Linked DNA regions of Homo sapiens: regions 2 and 3 are each linked to region 1. The links are contacts of gene promoters, found by promoter capture Hi-C in blood cells and fetal thymus (Javierre and others, 2016). All regions are on one chromosome and are shown on one strand. Each heading gives the region's core, a stretch centred on a gene start or on the middle of the fragment in contact. The rest is flanking DNA. Distances are from core to core; before and after follow the strand shown. Region 1 holds the start of RTL3 (retrotransposon Gag like 3). Region 2 has its middle 22 kb from the start of MIR4328. Region 3 has its middle 47 kb from the start of P2RY10.

Region 1 (4,298 bases), core at 1,146-3,645:
ACATGGATATTGGAAGAGAGGGGGACGCATATTTGTAGATTGGCCCACGTGGGGTCCCCCTTACTGGCAGGCCTGGATGTTTCCCGCCTGCAGGGCCTGATGAGGCTTGACAGGGCAATCTCTGGCAAAATGACCAGGATAACCACAGTAGAGGCATAAGCGGCCTTTGTGCCAACGGACCCATTCAGCTTCACTGATGTGTGGGCAGTTGATTGCAGCCTGCATAGGTTGGTTTTCAGCTGGTGGACTCTCGGGTCCATCTCCCTCTGCAGAGGAACTTTTCCCTAATGGATTGGGATCAGGCTTCTCTTCCAGGCTGATGCACTGAGTGATGAGATCAGATAGGTTGGTGGCTGGGCTTGTGTGAGACAGTTCATCTTGTATAGAACTGGCAAGACCTTCTTGAAATTGGATCCAGAGAGTGCTTTCATCCCAGTTCAGCTCTTGAGCAATGAGGTGGAAGTGGGTTGCTACATGACCCTCCCCTTGGCAGAGTTGATGGATGCACTGGTTGGCATCTTTCATGTTTTCTGGATTATCAAAAGTATCCTGGAGCACAGGTATGAAACTTTCACATTGCTCCAGTAAGGGGCTTTGGATATCCAGTAAGAGCTGGAACCACCATCCTGCCCTACCTGAGAAGCAATTGCCAACAAAGCTCACCAGGGCTGCTTCAGTGGGATACAGGTGCCCTCTGACTCTCATGTAACTATACAGCTGAACCAGGAACTCAGGAAGCTTCTGGGAATCTCCACTGAAGGTTAAAGTGTATTGCAGGGGGAAATCTGTAGCCTCTAACCCAATAGGGGCCTGTGGAAACTCTGAAGCTGCTGATGTCTCCACAACTATTAGACCCTCCAGGGACTCCTGGGCTGCTGAGAGTTCTAGGAATTCCTGGGCATTTGAAGGCTCCAGAGGCTCCTGGGGAGGTGGAAGCTCAAGGAACTCTAGCTGTGCTGCAGTTTCCTGGTATTCTGGTGCCTCCTGGGGCTTCTCAATATTTGGGGGATCCTGGGGTTCTGAATTCTTGGGCTCTTGGGCTATTGTGGCATCCTGGGTGTTTGCAGGCCCCTGGCCCTCCAAGACTGTTGGGATCTCATGGGCCATTGGAGGTTTCTGGGACTCCCGGGTTGCTGGAGGCGCCAGGGACTCTGGGGCTGCTGGGGCCTCCTGGAGTTCCCAGGCTGCTGGGGGTTCCCAGGGTAGAAGATCCTGTGGCTCTGGTGGCTTCTGGGGTTCCTTGAACTCTGGGGTCTTTTGGGCCTCCCAGGCTGCTGGGGGATTCATGTGCTCTGGGAGCTTCTGGGGCTCCTTGGCCTCTGAGGACTTTCGGAGTAGATCATACTCCTTGGCTGCTTGGGACTTCTGAAGCTCTGGGATCTGGGCCTGGAGAGCAGCATTTTCTTCCATCAGCCACTGCACTTGAGCCTGCCGAATTTCATTCTCCAATTTCAGAACAATATAGGAGGCTGCTAAGTCCTCCACCATCTTTTGAGGAAATGGGTATGATTTGACAATTTGCTACCAAGAGAGATTGGGTGGGTGTTTGTGAGATCCTTCCTGAAAGCTGCTTACAGGCAGATGTCAGGCTCAGTGAGTTTTCCAAGGGGTGGTATTTGGGCCCCGCCAAGGCTGATTATCAAGAGGTCACTGGGAGCCTCCGGAGCTCGGCAAGAAGGAGCCTCCGGAGCTCAGTAAGGGGAAGTGTCAGATACACTGCGAAGAGAGTGGGAGCTGAGGATCAGAAACTGTGGAAAGCACACATTCAACATAAAACAAAATCTGCCCAACAATGCTGGGTTTCTTTTACCATAGGCTTATGTTCATGAGCTGGGGTATATATGCTGGATCTGACTCCACGACATTTTAAGAACAGCATCTGTCCCAAACTGCACATGTCATTTTGCATTTATCCTTTGAAACTTAACATTATATCAAAAGCAACTTTTTAATATTATTTTCTGTTTTATATAGTCTTTAATCTTGAATATCTGCCTAATATCCCAATGTAACATTTGGATTTTAACAGCTGCTTTCAGTGACTAAATCAAATGTTTGAGCAATGTGGGAATTTTAGGCTCTGCGGTGGGCCAGCCCAAGAGATATTTTTGGGTGACTAGGGTGGTAGGAAGTAGGAGGGAGCTCTTTCTGACACCTCAGAAATCATACCACATAAGTAACCACACAAGACCAGCCTCAGGAGAAAACAAGCAAAAGTCGACTAAATATATATATATATATATATATATGCCCTCAGAAGACACATGCATATTATTTATAAAATACCTCAAAATAGTTAAGAAAATAATCTTTATAAATGTACGTTACCATTCAGAGACTTAGTCCAGGAGCTTGGCTGTCTGTGTACCCATTGCTGAGGAGGGAAATGTGTAAATGGCTGTGGAGGCTTGCCTTTTCTGCACACACTGAACTCAAGCAAACACACCCACTCCCAGAACACATTCCAACTTTCCTCTGTAACATAGCTTTTTAAAGTGTGGAAGAGTTTTTTGACAGTACCTCACAGTTCAGAGCTGCAAGGAAAGTAGGATGCTGTGCTGATGTGAAGCAGCTTCATGTACTCAGTCCTTGGTTACTTTAATGAATATTTGGCCAGGAAATTGTGAGTAATACCACTGCCCTTGTGAAAAGTTGCAAACATTTTTGAATGACCACAGTGGTTTGGGATGTGATTTTTTATGTCTGTCTCATCTAACCTATTCTTACTCTGTCCAAATTGGGCCATTTGTTTACTTCTCACTCAGGGAACAGCCTGCAAACCCTCAGCCCCTTCCCTTGCTTACTACCTATTCAGTCCCTAGGGTTTTTCCTTGCAATGTTTTCTTGGAAAATTTGCCACAGACAGATCTAGAAAAGGTATAAAAGGGTACAAATGTCAGGGAGACCAATTGTGTTGGTGGGTACTTATAGCAGTCTTACAGAGTCCCTGGCTCTTTCTGAATGTCCTGGACCAAAGATCTCATGCTTCCCTGAACTGATCAGGTGCTCCAGGTAGCACTCAGGACATTCACTAAAGACTGGCCTCTTGGGAAGTAACCCTGCTCAGAATCTCACTTTCTCTTCTCATGCCAGATCACAGTTATGCCTTGGGTATGGGCTATGTGGCCATTTTAGGCAAGGCTTAGGGGCAACTATTTTTATCCAAGTAAGGAGTGGGGTTGAGGTTTGCATTTGGCCATTTCAAATCACACATCATGTCAACCACAGTCCCATGTCTCCTTCACAAATGGTCAGTTCTGCATTAGTCAGCATAATGGGATAAACCCTAGTGATGGAATAGGCCCAAAACATAGCAAATTGACAGACTGGGCTACCTGAATCCGAATGCAGAAGCTTTGAAAGTAAAAACAAAATCTTTTGCAAATCGAGTTTATTCTTTCCTTACCTTTCAAAGTTTTATTTTTCTAGAAACACCACACATATAAAAATACCACCATCATCAGGGATGATGTGATCTATTTATGTGAAGTTTTCAGATAACTGAAGCCTTCCTGCCCTCCAAGAAGCCAAAACACACAGTTAACATTTATTTTATCCAGAAAGAAAAGAGAACTTCCAACACCTGAATTTGTAACGGGCTTAGTTAGGGAACAACTATTAATTGAAACTCTTTCCTAATGTTTAGCAATTTCTGTAACAATGAGTTTGAAGGTTCAATACTGGACATCAAGTTGAAATTTAATAAAGAGTATTTCAATTTAAAAAAATCAGAGAAATATTTATAGCATATGTTATACCTCTTTGTCCATTCTTAAGAAATGATTTTGCATATAATTTAATCCAGTTTTAATGGTTTGGATTCATACTTACACAAACCAGCTAGTTTACCCTGTTGTAACACAGTGTTGCCCTCTGAAAGCTACTGAGAGGTATAAAGTGGTCTGTCTTCAAATTAAAAACTTCCAAATTGCTATGTTTTGCGACTTCTTGTATTTTCTTTTCCTTTATATTTTTATACTCTTTTGCAATCAAGTTGTAACATAGCCCTTCATGTTATACCTATATGCCTGTCTATACTTACCCTATACAAATTTGGCAAATTACTTCATCCTTCTGATAGTTAGAATCTAAACTTTAGTTTATGAAACTGTAAAATGAAGTTATTAATATTATTTGACTTTATAGGGTTGTCAAAAATTCAGTGAAATAATGTGTGAAAAAAGGATTAGCACAGTGTCTGGCAGCTAATAACACCCAATAAAGGTTAATAATAATAATAATAATAATAATAATAAGCTGTAGCAGCAGTAATCTCATTTTAATTTATTCTTTTTAAT
Region 2 (4,725 bases), core at 1,383-3,882, 260 kb after region 1:
AGAATCTAAGTTACCTCAAAGAGGGTGAATGGAGGTCATTTCCAGAGGCAATTTGGGGGTTATTGTTCTGCAGAAATTCATGAGTTGGCCTACATCCTCTCCTCTAGAGACAAGTGGCCCTATGGGCCTAAGTATTCCAATTACTATTTCTTCAGTACATTGTACTTTCTGGCAGTATTAGGTATACTTTTGAAATGGCCATGTGTACTGAGACACATCATAACAGATCTATAATGTGTTACTTCATCTGTTTCCTGGATCAACCTTTCCTTTTGAACGTACATGTTATAAGCTCTTCTAATGAATATATTTTAAATTTTATCTCTCCGCAAAAGAGTTGATGGAAAAACTTAAGCTCTAGCACAAATAAGGTGCTCCAGCACAAATAAAGTGACCTTGTCAGATACATCAAATTTGAGCAGCAAATGTTCACAACTGGGAATTTAGTTTAATTTTCTTGTTAATAACCAGAGTACTTACTCACACAACCTCATAAGTTACCCAAAGAGATCATGGTTTTCCACCTTTTCCCAGTTAATTTGAAAAGTTAATATTTACTGAAGGCTCTTCATATCTGATAGTAGGTTAATGCTAGCTGAGCCTAAGGAATTATCCCATGGTCTTCATATGTGACAAGTTGCCAGTCTTTATGAATACAGTCAGAAAAGTGGAAGCCTCTCAAGCTACAAGTTCTGCTATTTCTTTTATCAAGAAGTTTCTATCTGTCTCCTCTGATTTATTCTCAATCTCTCCACTATAATTTAGTACCCTGTTTCCTCTTGAATCGACTATTCTAGTGGTTTTTCTAATCTATCTTCCATATCGTCTCCTTATCAATCATTCGGTATATCCTTGTTTCCATAATTATTTTTTCCCTAAAACACCGCTACTTTCAAGTTGTCATCTGTGCAAAAACCCATAGACTAATAGGTATTTATTACCTTTTGGGTAAAGTCCAAACTTGGTCGGGCATTCTAGATCCTCCTTCACAATCAGGCCCCAAACCAAAACCTGTTACTCATTGTTATCTTTTATGGAACTCCTACAGTGAGAATATTTGAATCTTTGTTTCCCTCAAACATCATTAATATTCTTAATAACTTGAAATTATTTGTGTTGTTTTATTTCTTCTTTCACTCATGCTGCTTTGGTAAATATTAATTTACTTTTAATATGTTAAAATCCTGTCACTGATCTGAATGCTGTCAATATAAAGACCAATACATTAATGTTAATTAAGTAAATCAAGGAACAAAGGTTGCTGGATAAATGAATTGATCTCACCAAATGTTCTGAGAACAAGTGAGAAAAAGTATATTGCCACTGAATTTCAAATGAAATAATGACATTTAGTTAAGACCTAGAATGTGTAATCAGCCATGATCCTAGGAACAATGTGAAGGCCTTGAGTTGAAATCCTACTGTTTTCTTTAATTCTCCTTCTGTTTCTGCATAAATACATTAACTTTGAGACTGAGTTTAACTTTAGAGCCTTTTTTCTTTTTTTTTAATTTTATTATTATTATACTTTAAGTTTTAGGGTACATGTGCCTTTTTTCTTATCTGCAATGTCAATAGCTCTCAAGCTCTTACAATGAAGGAGCTATTTTAGCAACATGTCTAGCAATGGAGTCAGTGAAAGGAGATGAATACAATACTTGTTTCGATTTTTCTATTTTTTTCTCTATTTTAAATTTCCATTAGCAGATCACCATTTGATTGGGTTTTGTTGATGGAAGAGAAGGTCTGAGTTTCCTGGACACAGTGGAGTAGAATATACTCTCTCAATCTCTATGGCTGAAATTTATGTCCTTTCCTATATAATCATGTTAGCTGATACGGTGACGGAAAGCTTTCCACATGGAGTAATTTTAGGCCACACAGAATAAAGCCCCTTTTTTTGCAGTGCTCTACCACATTCACCTCAGAGGTTTGGATTTTAAAAATTCTTGTGTAGTTGAGGTGGGATCAGAGAGCCCTCTGTCATGTTTCATGGGGCCTTGATCTCCAGGATGGCATTTGGCAATAGAGAGCCCACGAATATTTTCTATGGGCATTAGGTGGGAGTATATTTAGCTCTTATCTACAGACTAATGTGAATGACAATGGAAAAGTTTCCACAGGGATAAGCCTCACGAGTTGCCCATGAGGACAAAACTTTTATGGTCTAGTAGCATTTCCTCAGGTATTGCACCACATAGAACTCATGGGACCTGAATCACCAACCTTATTACCCAGAAATCAACTGGTCCCAATATCAGAAAGCCAAGTAGGGCACAGATAAGCAGAAAGTTACCTGCTTTATCTTTCCACCTTTCACTTCTTTACTATCCCCCTCTTCTTGTCATTATTATAATTACTATTATTAGTATTGTTTGTAAATCCATTTCTCTCTTCCACTCTTCTCATTTCCTTTATGTTTGTCAAGTATGCATTTTTTCAAAGTTTATGCACTCTTCTCTATCAGCACAGAATCCCCTAACATATTCTTCAACAAAGTGTCACTAGTGTCACTGATAATTTATACCCTCTTGAACACAACAGCCAGGAAGCCCTAACCTCAGAGATGTGTCAGCTCAACTTCGTTTTGTGCCAAAATGCCAAACCCAAGCCTCATTTAGGTGATGGGTGAGTTCAGTGGCTCTCTACTCACCCCTTTCCTCTTACACATAAATAAATTCCAGTGGGAGGAAAATAATTTCATAGGATCTTAATGTCATTATAAATACCACTTTTAGTTCAGCAAAGGAGAAAACATGAAAAGGGAGTGGATTACTCAACAACTTGGTTGATGTGAGCTTCAGAAGTATTTTTTTAGTTTTTTGAGAAAATAAATATATGTAAAACAAATATTCAAACACGGAGAAAATTTTCTCTCAGCATGGACTAGAAAACATAAAACTCTAATATTTCTAATGGGAGAAGTGAGAAATTGGTTTCTGAAACACTAAAGTTGTTTTGAAGCAACTGATACTTCCTTCTATTTATAGCTTACCAAAGCCCAGTATACATTGGTGAATGAGATTAGGGAGCAAAGTTGTACAGTTTAAGAGGGTATCCTAAAAAAACAAACAACAACAAAAAACCTCATTTCTCATAGTTTTCTGAAGAAAGTTAAATAAGCGCCCAGCATGAAAGCAAAGTCCAGCTCATAAGCTGATTTTGGACAGTGCTGACTCAGTAACACTCTTCTCTGAGATCTCTTTTCCTTGCCTACTTTGCTCCTTCATGAGAGTTTTGTTACCACTGACCTCCTTCTGACTCCCCCCACTTCATGTTAGCTTTGGACTGGCCAAGTAGCTTTGATTCTCCTGGAAAGCTGATTCAACTCACTGTCCAGTCCAGCACCTGACCTTCATTAGGCAGTCATTTCTGTCTTGAGACCATGCTGAGGAACTTCCCTGCACTGGTCTAAGCTTTATTTACACTTTGGAAACCACCTAAAGACTTAGCTCTGGGAGAAGATCTTCTTAAAGTTCAATACTGAAAGAAAACCTGTAAAGTGCTCTTTCATTTTTTAGTGAAATGTCTTTCCATTTCCCAGCTGCTGATTCATAGTGACACAGCATCGTTTGCTCTTCAGCTTGTATTTTCTCTTAGCATGGCCCCAGAGGCTAGTAGCCCAGCTCATAACCAGTGCCACAAAGAAAGAAGGGAATGGAATTTTACTAAACCAAAATAAAAAGATGTTTTTGGCAGTATGGTCAATTTTCACAATATTGATTGTACCCATCCATGAACATGAGATGTGTTTCCATTTGTTTGTGCCATCTATAATTTCTTTCAGCAGTGTTTTTTTTTTCTAGAGGTCTTTCACCTCCTTTATTAGGTATAGTCCTAAGTATTTTATTATTTTTTTGCAGCTATTTTAAAAGGGATTGAGTTCTTTATTTGATTCTCAGCTAGCTTGTTGTTGGTTTATAGAAGAGCTATTGATTTGTGTACATAAATTTTGTATCCGGAAACTCTGCTGAATTTTTTTTTTTTTTTTTTTTTGAGACGGAGACTCACTCTGTCGCCCAGGCTGGAGTGCAGTGGCGCGATCTCGGTCCACTGCAAGCTCCGCCTCCCGGGTTCACGTCATTCTCCTGCCTCAGCCTCCTGAGTAGCTGGGACTACAGGTGCCCGCCACTATGCCCGGCTAATTTTTTGTATTTTTAGTAGAGACGGAGTTTCACTGTGTTAGCCAGGATGGTCTCGATCTCCTGACCTTGTGATCCGCCCGTCTCAGCCTCCCAAAGTGCTGGGATTACAGGCGTGAGCGACCACGCCTGGCCTCTGCTGAATTTTTTTTTTTTTTTTTTATCAGTTGTAGGAGCTTTTTGGAGGAGTCTTTAGGGTTTTCTAGGTAAGTGATCATGTCATCAGCAAACAGCAACAGTTTGACTTCCTCTTTACCGATTTGGATGCCCTTTATTTCTTTCTCTTGTCTGATTGCTCTGGCTAGGACTTCCAGTACTATGTTGAAGAGGAGTGGTGAGGGTAGGCATACTTGTCTTGTTCCAGTCCTCAGAGGGAATGCTTTCAACTTTTCCCCATTCAGTATTATGTTGGCTGTAAGTTTGTCATAGATGGCTTTTATTACATTGAGGTATGTCCCTTGTATGCCAATTTTTCTGAGAGTTTTAATCAAAAAGGAATACTGGATTTTGTTGAATGCTTTCTCTGCATCTATTGAGATGATCATGTAATTTTTGTTTTTAATTCTGGTTATTTGCTGTATCA
Region 3 (4,505 bases), core at 487-2,986, 330 kb after region 1:
ATTTTGCAGCTTTAAGATTTGACTGCCCCACTGGATTTTGCACTTGCATGGGGCGTGTGGCCTCTTTTTTTCTGGCCCATTGCTCCCATTTGGAATGGCTGTATTTACCCAGTGCCTGTACCCCCATTGTATCTAGAAAGCTACTAACTTGCTTTTGATTTTACAGGCTCATAGACTGAAGTGACTTTCTTTGTCTCAGATAAGACTTTGGGCTGTAGACTTTTGAGTTAAAGTTAAAATGAGTTAAGACTTTGGGGGACTCTTGGGAAGGCATGATTGGTTTCAAAATGTGAGGACATGAGATTTGGGAAGGGCCAGGGATGGAATGACATGGTTTGGCTGTGTCCTCAATCAAATATCGTCTTGAATTTCCACATGTTGTGGGAGAGACCCAGTGGGAGGTAATTGAATTATGGCAGCAGGTCTTTCCTGTGCTGTTCTTGTAATAGTGAATAAGTCTCATTAATTCTGATGGTTTTAAAAGGGGAGTTTCTCTGCAGATACTCTCTTCTCATCTGCCACCATCTGTGATATGCCTTTCACCTTCTGACATGATTGTGAGGCCTCCCCAGCCATGTGGAACTGTGTCCATTAAACCTCTTTATTTTATATATTGCCCAGTCTCGGGTATGCCTTTATCAACAGCATGAAAATGGACTAATACACACCCTCACATACACACCCAGAAATAATCTATTACCAGCACTCTGGGCATTCTCTTAACCCAGTGATGTTGACAAAGAAAATTAACCATCAAAATTCCACCACTTGTCAACTTGACATGCATACACAGCTCCTTCAACTATACTTAATCTCCAAATAAAGACAATAATAAAGAAATAACTCTGCTTAACGTAATACAACTGTTCTGTGTACAAACAAAAATACATTAATTCCTACCCTCAGAGTGGAGGTAAAGTCTTTCAGTGATGTGTATTTTTTCCTGATTTTCTGTAACTTAAATATTACAATGTAAAATTAACAATACTTAAATATTGATATAGTCAATACATTTAAAGTTATTTGATAAGGGAAAGAAAAAAATTGCTCAAAATATGTATTTTCATATGTTAAATGTGTATGTGTGTGTAATAATTCACATCCACACACGAATGTCATTCATTACAAAATGAGAAAAACATGCTCATGACAATTACAGTCCTTATTTCTGTAACTGGTTACATGGTAGTAGCTAGTATTTATAACTACTTTGTTCTGCTGTCCATCCTGTATTACCTTTCCCTTTGGCAAGCACTTATGCTATTTGTGGTTCTTTATCTGGTAGGATAACCCAAACCTTCATTTCTGGCTGCCGTTTTCATGAGTCCACTCAGCAATGACAGAGTTGTCTGGCAAAACAAGCTTACTGGTATCTATAGAATGCATCATTCTATCCACTTGATTAGTTAAATCCTTCTCTGCTGGGTTCATCCTTTGGAAACACTCACACAGGACACAAATATCTTCATAATTTTTTATCATTCAGAGATATTTATCCCTATGTCTTCTCCTCAAATTTTTTTTGGTCACCAATTCTCCAATTATGTTTCTTTCTGCTTCCTGTCCATCCACTCAAACGATTGGCTACAGATGATAAATTGTTATATAATTGCATTTCTAGCCATTTTGCCTTCTAAGCAAGAAGCACAACCAGGTGCAGCACTCAACGTTTTGCCCATTGGGAAAATTTACCTTTACCAGTGTCCTTCAGTGATGTCTCATAGAAGTTCTGTAGTTACAGTTTTGAGTGATGCCTTCAAAATATATTGTGCCTAAAAACTAATTCTTGTTGACAAGTCTTAATCAGCATAATGACATTAATCTAAATAACTAGCATGATATTTTGTGGAAAGAGACAGTCTAGATTTCTCTTAACTACATTATGATATAGAGTTGGAGAGTTGATATACCTCTGAGGTAGAACAGTGAAGGTATACTCTTGGCCTTGCTAGATAAAAGCAAATTGCTTCTGGTGGGCCTTGTAAATAGGATGGAGAAAAAGGTATTCGCCAGCTAAATAGCTGCATATCAGGTACCAGGGATGGGTCTACTTGCTCAAGCAACAAAACCACATCAGGTGCAGCCCCTGCAATTGGAGTCATCACTTGGCTAAGCTTACAGTAATCTATGGTCATCCTCCAATATCCATCTCTCTTCTTCACAGTCCAAATAGAAGAGTTGAATTGGGATGTGGTGGGAATCACCACCCCTACATCTTTCAAGTCCTTGATGGTAGCCCTAGTATCTGCAATGCCTCAAGAAATGCAGTATTGCTTTTAATTTACTATTTTCCTGGATAAAGGCAGTTTCCTAGATAATGGCTTGCATTTGACCTTTTCTACTATACTATCCCTTACTTTATAGGTCAAGAAACCAATGTGGAAATTCTGCTATTTGCTAAATATGTCTATTCCAATTATGCATTCTGGAATTAGGAAATAACTGCAGAATGGGTTAAGGGACCCAACGGGTCCACTGTAAGATAGACCTGAACTAAAGGTTCCATTGATTTTCTGGCCTCTGTAAGCTGTTACTCTAACTGGGGGGTCACAGTTACCTTTAAGGGTCTCCTAGAATCAATGTAAGTTCAGAGCAAGGATCTGGAGTCTCAATAAAACCTGATTATTTTTCTTTTTTTCTAATGCACAGTTACCCTTTGGGGAACGCTGAGAAAGATATGAATAATATAAATTTTCAGTGGTGCACCAAGGTCCTTCCTCAAGAAAATCTAGCGTCCCTTTCACTTAAGGGATAGTGGGTTTGCAAATAGGCTCAACTCTGGAAATTGATTGAGGGGCCATGACTCTGTTTACATGATTTATGATATACTTATTCATTTGGTCTGGAACTTTTTTTGTTTATGCAAATTAAGTATGAATTTAGTAAGCTTTCTATTTTGCTTCTTTTTTTATTTTATTTTATTATTATTATACTCTAAGTTTTAGGGTACATGTGCACAAGGTGCAGGTTAGTTACATATGCATACATGTGCCATGCTGGTGTGCTGCATCCATTAACTCGTCATTTAGCATTAGGTATATCTCCTAATGCTATCCCTCCCCCGTCCCCCCACCCCACAACAGTCCGCATAGTGTGATGTTCCCCTTCTTGTGTCCATGTGTTCTCATTGTTCAATTCCCACCTATGAGTGAGAACATGCGGTGTTTGGTTTTTTGTCCTTGCGATAGTTTACTGAGAATGATGATTTCCAATTTCATCCATGTCCCTACAAACGACATGAACTCATCATTTTTTATGGCTGCATAGTATTCCATGGTGTATATGTGCCACATTTTCTTAATCCAGTCTATCATTGTTGGACATTTGGGTTGGTTCTAAGTCTTTGCTATTGTGAATAGTGCCGCAATAAACATACGTGTGCATGTGTCTTTATAGCAGCATGATTTATAATCCTTTGGGTATATACCCAGTAATGGGATGGCTGGGTCAATGGTATTTCTAGTTCTAGATCCCTGAGGAATTGCCACACTGACTTCCACAATGGTTGAACTAGTTTACAGTCCCACCAACAGTGTAAAAGTGTTCCTGTTTCTCCACATCCTCTCCAGCACCTGTTGTTTCCTGACTTTTTAATGATTGCCATTCTAACTGGTGTGAGATGGTTTCTCATTGTGGTTTGGATTTGCATTTCTCTGATGGCCCGTGATGGTGAGCATTTTTTCATGTGTTTTTTGGCTGCATAAATGTCTTCTTCTAAGAAGTGTTTGTTCATGTCCTTTGCCCACTTTTTGATGGGGTTGTTTGTTTCTTTCTTGTAAATTTGTTTGAGTTCATTGTAGATTCTAGATATTAGCCCTTTGTCAGATGAGTAGGTTGTGAAAATTTTCTCCCATTGTGTCTATTTTGCTTCTAGAACACCATGATAAATCAGCCAATGCCACAAGTCTGTGTGAGTCAGACTATTTTGATTGTTATTTTACCTCTGCTTTTCATTACAATATCTACAGTGACCTTGCCTTTGGCAGTTGATTGCTACCACTTGGCCTCTGCCACCCAAAGATCCAATTACTGCTATTGAATATAGGTTTTTTTGTTGTTTTTGTTGGGAGTGTTTGTGGTTTCCACTATAAGGTTTGGACTACAGAAAACAATGATTATGGAGCTTGTCAAAGATGCTAAGGCTTTCCTCATAAATTTATATCTAAAAGCATTGATGAAAGACACATCTTCTGACTTTTGCCCCCTTGAGTGGTTAAATAGGTCTTAAATGATAAATCCACTCAAACATTTTAATCTCTCTAAGACTTTGAATTCCTTTCTTTATATTTAACCAAGGAAGTTTGGGTATTTTAAATTTGCTCATTGTGGACCCTCTTTTGATTCATATTTTAGCCAACCAACCAAACAAACTGATAGAGCCTGATCTAACTTCAAAAGCTACAATATTAAATGCAGAATCTTTGTTTGGTGGGCTCTCATCACTAAATTCAATCAAATTCAAATTTATGTCCTTCTACCATTATGAACACCCTTAATATCAATTC

What was found. The method cuts DNA at HindIII sites, captures the fragments that hold promoters and counts their contacts. A CHiCAGO score of 5 or more calls a contact.
Region 2: a contact is called between a fragment that was not itself captured here and the fragment with the promoter of RTL3 in region 1, in 1 of 17 cell types (total CD8 T cells). The highest score is 5.1, in total CD8 T cells.
Region 3: a contact is called between a fragment that was not itself captured here and the fragment with the promoter of RTL3 in region 1, in 1 of 17 cell types (fetal thymus). The highest score is 5.6, in fetal thymus.

What each region holds. Positions count from the first base shown.
Region 1 is chrX:78,656,933-78,661,230 of GRCh38, forward strand. It overlaps RTL3 (retrotransposon Gag like 3), which reads right to left and starts at 2,396. Exons shown (of 2, transcript NM_152694.3): 1 at 2,329-2,396; 2 at 1-1,716. The coding sequence starts at 1,488. The coding sequence ends at 61. All of the region lies in intron 1 of LOC107985670 (a long non-coding RNA gene), which reads left to right. The HindIII fragment of the contact is 2,616 bases long and covers 737-3,352 here.
Region 2 is chrX:78,920,388-78,925,112 of GRCh38, forward strand. No RefSeq gene overlaps it. Among named protein-coding and RNA genes, the nearest start is that of MIR4328, 22 kb to the left of the region's middle. RefSeq lists an enhancer at 3,409-3,528. The HindIII fragment of the contact is 1,564 bases long and covers 1,851-3,414 here.
Region 3 is chrX:78,990,141-78,994,645 of GRCh38, forward strand. No RefSeq gene overlaps it. Among named protein-coding and RNA genes, the nearest start is that of P2RY10, 47 kb to the left of the region's middle. The HindIII fragment of the contact is 752 bases long and covers 1,361-2,112 here.